Linked DNA regions of Homo sapiens: region 2 is linked to region 1. Evidence: promoter capture Hi-C in human tissues and cell types (Jung and others, 2019). All regions are on one chromosome and are shown on one strand. The core of a region is centred on a gene start or on the middle of the fragment in contact, and the rest is flanking DNA. Distances in the headings are between cores, read along the strand shown. Region 1 holds the start of LRIT3 (leucine rich repeat, Ig-like and transmembrane domains 3). Region 2 overlaps EGF (epidermal growth factor).

Region 1 (4,124 bases), core at 1,329-3,828:
CCACTGCAATCAATTCATACAATACAACCTCAATCAATACAATTTCATAGCTAATCTTTTAAAAATAAAGTTCCAATGCCCAAATTCTTTGGCTAAAAACCTTCACTCACCCACCAAGTAAGTATAAACCCCTCAGCTGGATTTTCAAGGCCCTCTTTAACATACTTCAAGAGGGACTTTTCAGCTTTTTGTCTCTCTTCATGGCCAAATTAAAATGTCTAGTGTTCCGAGAGAGCTCTGAATGCTTTGTGTCACTAGGTCTTCGCTCATCCTGTCTATCATAGCCGAGCCTTTTTACAGGGAAAGCATAGTGAAATCTGCACCCAAAGTCCCAGAGCCATTAAAAGGCCAGGACAACTTCTGTAATAATGTCTAGAAAAATGGACTCAGAGTTCCAATTTGCAAGGCTGTGAACTCATTTCCAGCGATAAGCAAGAAGCAACTTTGCCTCAAATATAAAGGACTTCAACAGTGTACAGTAATTATATTTCAATGCTATATTATTTATTTTTTAATTTGCTTATATGATAAAACTAGGAAGACCTGGCTTTGGTTACATAGTTCCCTCTGACCTCTTAGTTTGCTAATTTCTGATGTTTTTATCTTTAAACAGCGTTTCTATGCTCAATTTGGCACGTCTTGCTTCCATGTAAGTCATAACATCCATGAAATTAATGATTCAAAAACCCTTGGTCACTTGGCGATCAGAGCTTTACCCATCCAATTTCTTTTTCCTCTTGTGCTCAAAAACTCGAGGCCACCACCTCTCACTGCATCTCCAGCACTGGGAAACCTTAGGGTTGTTTTTAAATCCCTTCTTCATCCTTACGTCTAATCAATCATTTCTCTCTCCTGGGTGTTTCCTGAAGCTGCATTATCCTAACGATTACTAGCACAGCAGTCAAGGCTGTAGCCTAATGGCTGCTCACCTGGACTATAACCACAGACATCCACCTGAAGCCTCCTCCTTTCTTCTTGCTTGCTCTATCTAGAAGCTTCCTCCTTTCTTCTTGCTTGCTCTGTCTAAACCTTTTCTCCACACAGCCGCCAGAGAATTCTTCCTGAAAGGATAAGCTGATATGCCACTCCCAAGCCTAACTTTTATTGCTCCCATTGCCTGTAGGCTGAGAGTAAGCTCTCCATAGGGAATCTAAGGGTTTCCTTGATAACTTCATCCCCGCTTATCTCTCCAGCTTTATCTTTTTTAACTTCCTGCCTCAAAATCTTATGCCTGAGCAACAAGAAGTGCTTGAAATTCTCTGAGGACAATACACTGTTTCTCACTTCCCTCCCTTTGTTCCCACTATTCCCTTTGCTTGCAATGCAACTTTCTGGATTTTCCCATAATACATCGTCATGCACCCTGTAAAAGGCAGCCAGGCACCACCCACCCTAGGAAGTCTTGCTTGACTAACACAGGCTGGGTTTGATGCTCTTTTCTCGTGCTTCTTTAGTAGTCTGTTCCTCCCTTTATCGTGTGAGTTCCTTATGTGTAATAACTGTCTTATTTATCTTTGTACCCCTCAATGCTCAGCAGAGAATAAGTACTCAGTAAATATTTGATGAACAAACGAGTTGTGCAGAATCTGAAAACCTGCAGTATTTTATTTTAATTGAGCACAGTTTTTCAGACTGTATGGTTTTTATATACATTCTATTGGTTTTAAATAACATTTTCTATAATATGCTTATTTTTATAGAATTAATTTTCTTTTAAAAAGGTTTTTAGTTAAAGAGGATGGTTAGAAGCAGCCACTAAGAAGGTTAAATGACGTATATTTATTACTTAAATCCTTGATTGTCCCTGTGGATTCTCCACTCTATGAGTGTGGAGATACTTTTAAATTTAATTACATTTAATTTTTATTTTCTGACAGAGCCTAATATAGCTGAAAGAATTAGAGTTGATCTTCAAATATGGCTTTGATGCTGATAACTTGGGAAACTATTGAACAGAGATAGTTGCCTGCATTAAAAATAAATGTGCTGGGATAAACCTTCCACACACTGAGATGACCTGGAAGAGTCTCAGAACACGTTCTTATTGGAGAACTTAGTCCTGCCACATCAGTAGTGGATTGAAGCATTTTCCCTATAAAATCTGTGTAACTGACTTGTTTTACTTTACTTTTAGAGATAGCCAGTATGTGGCAACATCGATAACTCTTTTCTAAATCATTTTTATGTCATGTGCTTCTATTTTTAAAACTAAATTTTGTAAAACTGAATTAGTAACACATTCTGGCAAAAACCAAATGCAAAACATTTTATAATGTTGTAACATGTAAATAATCTACAGAATTTTCTTGCATCTGCCAAGACTGAATTATTTTACATTAAGTATATTTTTAAGGTGTAGTGGCAAGTACATCCAGAAGAAAGGGATTTAATAGGCATTTTCTTGCAAATCTAGTTACGGGTAACTATTGAAATTGCTTGTCATGTGTTTGATTTTCATTTTCCTTAGAATGTGTTACTTTGCTGAAACTGTATTCAAAGGCTGGATCAATTGATCTCCTGCAAGATACACTTGAAGGTTAAGTAACTACAGATCTCAGCTAATCCCGTGTAATCTGCTGTTACTAAATGGCTGTTTGTATTCCAGGCATACCAGGTTCTGAATGCTTAGGATTCGGTTTTTACCTTTTGTTTAAATAACCTCTAAAAGGAGCAATGCATCTCTTTGCATGTCTGTGCATTGTCCTTAGCTTTTTGGAAGGAGTGGGCTGTTTGTGTCCTTCACAGTGCACCTGTGATTATCACGGCAGAAATGACGGCTCAGGATCAAGGTATGCTCCTCTGCTTGTTACTAAGTGTTCTCATTATTTTGACAAAAAGGACCCAAACAAGAAAGCCTACTTTTGAAAGCAAATGTTTGGGGATCAGAAATCACAGAAGAGAATGTTTAGTGTCCATAAGCTTTAACTTAATTGTTTTAACACTGGTCACCTACTCCTTCACTGTTTTCGTTTTGAGCAGTTTAACTCTCAAAGGCCTCTCAAGGTATTGGAAATTTCTAAACACATTCTATGTTCCAAAATTTTTATTATGCTCATGTTCACAAATTGTTGCTTGAGATCAAACGATTTAAAGGTGCATGGCCAGCTAAGCCCTTGATTATAGAAAGGCTAAGAGGGCAGGCTGAACAGGAGCTGCGTGACATGCTCAGATCCTTTGCTTTCATGGCTCTCCACTTCCTTTGAGAACTATTCATGCCAATTGAATGGCAGAAAGAAAGATCTCAAGAGTGAAGTTAGAGAGGTTAATAGTTAGAATTTTTCATTTTAAGCTGATGGAATTTACAAAATAAAGAAGATTGAAAAAGATACTGTCTGTTTCAGACACTGCAGGATCTCACAGAAGTTATTCAATCTCTAGGTTGCTTTAGCATCTACTTGTGTAGTGAGAAGAGTTATTTACTTATATTGTGCATGAGGCCTTTTAGATATGTTAAATGCAAAACAGAACTCTTGCTAGCTAAACACAGTAGAACTTGAATTTTTTTTTTGAGAGGTTATTTAATAACAAAATCAGGTTATTTGTGACTTGGTTGAAGTAAACGGTGTCTCAGATAAAATAATTTGTTAAAAGAGTTGCCCAATTTATGTCTTATAACTTTAAACAAATAAATAATAATAAATAAGACATATTTGTGAAAAGCTTATCTTGTTATTGTATAAACTTTAGTTAACCAATTCTTGGTATTTTTTGAGATATTCACTGGGTGGTTAAAGACAATGAAGAGAATGTAGCAAGTTAAAGACCTACTTGTCCAGGGACGTGTAGCAGTGAAGGATCAGGCCAGGGTACTTTTGAGAAACTATCACAGAAATGTTTCCTTCTTTGTGGTGACCCCATTATTGATGGATTTTATAAAAATTATAGAATATTAGGCCTGGCAAGAAATAATCTAGTTCAACCCCTTGTCAGTTTATAAGTGAAGAAACTAAACTGTATGGAGACCAAATGACTTGTCCTAGATCATATAATTGTGTTGATGTAGTAACTAAGTTCATAAAGATGCTAGATCTTTTAGCGTACAAACTAGACTTTCTTCTATGATAGCATGCTGAGATACTTATTTTATTTATTTATTTATTTTGAGACAGAGTCTCACTTTGTCA
Region 2 (4,197 bases), core at 460-2,959, 91 kb after region 1:
ATGTCTATTAGGTCTGCTTGGTCCAGAGCTGAGTTCAAGTCTTGAATATCCTTGTTAATTTTCTTTCTCGTTGGTCTAATATTGACAGTGGGGTGTTATTGTCTCCCACTTTTATTGTGTGGGAGTCTAAGTCTCTTTGTAGGTCTCTAAGAACTTGCTTTATGAATCTGGGTGCTCCTGTATTGGGTGTACATATAATTAGGCTACTTAGTTCTTCTTGCTGCATTGATCCCTTTACCATTATGTAATGGTCTTCTTTGTCTCTTTTGATCTTTGTTTCTCTAAAGTCTGTTTATCAAAGACCAGGATTGCAATCCCTGCTTTTTTTTTTTTTTTGCTTTCCATTAGCTTGGTAGATCTTCCTCCATCCCTTTATTTTGAGCCTATGTGAGTCTTTGCACATGAGATGGGCCTCCTGAAACCAGCACACTGATGGTCTTGACTCTTTATCCAATTTGCCAGTCTGTGTCTTTTAATTGGGGCATTTAGCCCATTTACATTTAAGGTTAATATTGTTATATGTGAATTTGATCCTGTCATTATGGTGCTAGCTGGTTTCTTCATAGCGTCCATGGTCTTTACCATTTGACATGTTTTTGCAGTGGCTGGTACCGGTTCTTCCTTTCCATATTTAGTGCTTCTTTCGGGAGCTCTTGTAAGGCAGGCCTGGTGGTGACAAAATCTCTCAGCATTTGCTTGTCTTTAAAGGATTTTATTTCTCCTTCACTTATGAAGCTTAGTTTGTCTGGATATGAAATTTTGGGTTGAAAATTCTTTTCTTTAAGAATGTTGAATATTGGCCCCCACTCTCTTCTGGCTGTAGGATTTCTGCAGAGAGATCTGCTGTTAGTCTGATGGGCTTCCCTTTGTGGGTAACTCGACCTTTCTCTCTGGCTGCCCTTAACATTTTTTCCTTCATTTCAACCTTGGTGAATCTGAAAATTATGTGTCTTGGGGTTGCTCTTCTCGAGGAGTATCTTTGGGGGTGTTCTCTGTATTTCCTGAATTTGAATGTTGGCCTGCCTTGCTAGGTTGGAGATATTCTCCTGGATAATATGCCGAAGAGTGTTTTCTAACTTGGTTCCATTCTCCCCGTCACTTTCAGGTACACCAATCAAATGTAGATTTGGTCTTTTCACATAGTTCCATATTTCTTTGAGGCTTTGTTTGTTTCTTTTCACTCTTTTTTCTCTAATCTTGTCTTCTTGCTTTATTTCATTAATTTGATCTTCAATTGCTGACATCCTTTCTTCCGCTCGATTGAATTGACTATTGAAGCTTGTGCATGTGTCACGAAGTTCCTGTGCTGTGGTTTTCAGCTACATCAGGTCATTTAAGCTCTTCTCTACACTGTTGATTCTAGTTATCCATTTGTCTCACCTTTTTTCAAGGTTTTTAGCTTCCTTGCGATGGGTTAGAACATGCTCCTTTAGCTCGGAGAAGTTTGTTATTACTGATCTTCTGAAGCCTACTTCTGTCACCTTGTCAAACTCATTCTTTGTCCAGTTTTGTTCCCTTGCTGGCAAGGAATTGTGTTCCTTTGGAAAAGAAGAGGCAATCTGGTTTTTGGAATTTTCAGCCTTTTTGCTCTGGTTTCTTCCCATCTTAGCGGTTTTATCTACCTTTGGTCTTTGATGCTGGTGACCTACGGATGGGGTTTTGATGTGGATGTCTTTTCTGTTGATGTTGATGCTATTCATTTCTGTTTGTTAGTTTTCCTTCTAACAGACAGGCCACTCAGCTGCAGATCTGTTGGAGTTTGCTGGAGGTCCACTTTAGACCTTGTTTGCCTGGGTATCACCAGTGGAGGCTACAGAAGAGCAAATATTGCTGCCTGATTCTTCCTCTGGAAGCTTTGTCCCAGAGGGGCACTTGCCTGTATGAGGTGTCTGTTGGCCCCTACTAGGAGGTGTCTCCCAGTGAGGCTACACAGGCTCAGGGACCCACTTGAGGAGGCAGTGTGTCTGTTAATGGATCTCAAACGCTGTGCTGGGAGAACCACTGCTCTCTTCAGAGTTGTCAGGCAGGGATGTTTAAGTCTGTAGAAGCTGTCTGCTGCCTTTTGTTCAGATATGCCCTGCCTCCAGAGGTGGAATCTAAAGGGGCAGTAGGCCTTGTTGAGCTGCGTTGGGCTCTGCCCAGTTCGAGCTTCCCTGCCTCTTTGTTTACACTGTGAGCATAGCACTACCTACTCAAGCCTCAGCAATGGTGGCATCCCTCCCTCCACCAAGCTTTAGCATCCCAGATCGATCTCAGACTGCTGCGCTAGCAGTGAGCAAGGCTCCATGGGTATGGGACCAGCTGAGCCAGGCAGGGGAGGGAACATCCGGGCCTGCTGGTTGCAAAGACCGTGGGAAAAGCGCAGTATTTGGACAAAAGTGTACAGTTCCTCCAGTTACAGGCACTCACAACTTCCCTTGGCTAGGAAAGGGAAATCCCCTGACCCCTTGCACTTCCCACATGAGGCAACACCCCACCCTGCTTCGGCTGGCCCTCCGTGGGCTGCACCCACTGTCCAACCAGTCCCAGTGGGATGAACCAGGTACCTCAGTTGGAAATGCAGAAATCACCCATCTTCTGTGTCAATCTTGCTGGGAGCTGTAGACCTGAGTTGTTCCTATTCGGCCATCTTGGAAGCGCCAACCCTCTTGTAGCTTTAATTCAACGTACTCTCCAAAGTGGAGTTAGTGTTTTCTGACTCTAGAACATAGTCCCTGAGTAAAAGGATGTTAACCCATCATTTTGTTCAATGCTTACAATAAACACATTTATTAAGTCATATTAAAGTATTACTTTTGATGATAAAACAGAATGGAGTAAGCCCAGCACAGAAGCAAGAATATGTTAGAATTCCCCTCCATTCCCCACTTACCCCAGTGATTCTGTCATTTTCTAAAGGCAGAGTGGCCCAAGCCTCCTCACACTTGGTCAAGAGAGAGAGACCAAGAAAACTAACTTGACTTGATGTAACTAATTTCATCCTCTGGTGTCATCTCAGAGCATCACAGGCAAGCTGTGTGTGGAGTCTGTCAGTAATTAGTGGTGAGGTTTCCCAAGAAGGGATCAGGTTCCCAAGTAGATATTGAATATTGGGGCATCAGAGTTGGTAGGTGGCCATCACCTAGAACAGGAGAGGACCCCAGGTACAGGATTAGGGTACCAAGCAAGGCCCTACAGGCACCAAGAAATCTAGTGAGGTTTGCCACCCAGATTTAGCAAATAAAAATGCAAAGTGCCCAGTCAAATTTGAATTTCAGGTAAATAGAGAACAAATTTTTAGTGTATGTCCCATGCAATATATGTGGAATTCAAATTTATTTGGGCATCCTGTATTTATGTGGTAAAGATAACAGGGTCAAAATATTTCAGAACCTTTACAGGATTCTGAAATTGAAACAGCATTTCAATTTTTCCTGCTTCCGTCTAAGACCTTTTAGTTTTCACCGTCGTCTTCTAGGTCATTATGCTGAAGGCTCTGGTCATAGGTAAGACCCAAGGAGTCCATTTCCAAAATGATAATATCTGTAATTTTAGTTCTAATTTACATAATTAAAATTTACACTTATATAAATCCTTTCCACAATAGAATATGATGGGTGGTTCCTTTTTGAACATAAAAAGGTATTTTATGGATAAAGAGTAAAAAGTGTCTTTCTCTTCAGAGAGTTCATTTTTCATAATTTACCAATGTTCATGTCTTATAATCAGTTTGTGGAGAAGACAATTTACAAAGTGGAGTGTGAATATCTACAGGAACTCTTTATTGTCTATAAATAGACTTTATTTTAAACAGAAAACCAGTAATTAAAAATTATTTCTGCTTGTGTTGGTTGTCATTGGGAAGTATTTTGTTTAAATGAGATAAAATATTAAAAGTATACAGTTTGGTCTCTTTCTTCCCACCCAGGTCCTGCACCCTTCTTAATTTTCTCCCATGGAAATAGTATCTTTAGGATTGACACAGAAGGAACCAATTATGAGCAATTGGTGGTGGATGCTGGTGTCTCAGTGATCATGGATTTTCATTATAATGAGAAAAGAATCTATTGGGTGGATTTAGAAAGACAACTTTTGCAAAGAGTTTTTCTGAATGGGTCAAGGCAAGAGGTAAAATACCCTTACCTACAGTGTTTGAGCTGTTTTTGTACAGGCTGACAAATATAATATACTGAATTCTTAATGTATAGATAAATGAAA

The links. The method cuts DNA at HindIII sites, captures the fragments that hold promoters and counts their contacts. A contact is called where the count stands out against the background at its distance.
Region 2: a fragment that was not itself captured here is called in contact with the fragment with the promoter of LRIT3 in region 1 in 4 of the 25 tissues and cell types used here (mesenchymal stem cells, mesendoderm cells, spleen and 1 more).

The regions. Positions count from the first base shown.
Region 1 is chr4:109,845,529-109,849,652 of GRCh38, forward strand. LRIT3 (leucine rich repeat, Ig-like and transmembrane domains 3) reads left to right here and starts at 2,579. Exons shown (of 4, transcript NM_198506.5): 1 at 2,579-2,789. The coding sequence starts at 2,674. The HindIII fragment of the contact is 6,154 bases long and covers 1-3,289 here.
Region 2 is chr4:109,937,039-109,941,235 of GRCh38, forward strand. EGF (epidermal growth factor) reads left to right here. Exons shown (of 24, transcript NM_001963.6): 2 at 3,908-4,107. Among named protein-coding and RNA genes, the nearest start is that of EGF, 26 kb to the left of the region's middle. The HindIII fragment of the contact is 3,806 bases long and covers 1-3,612 here.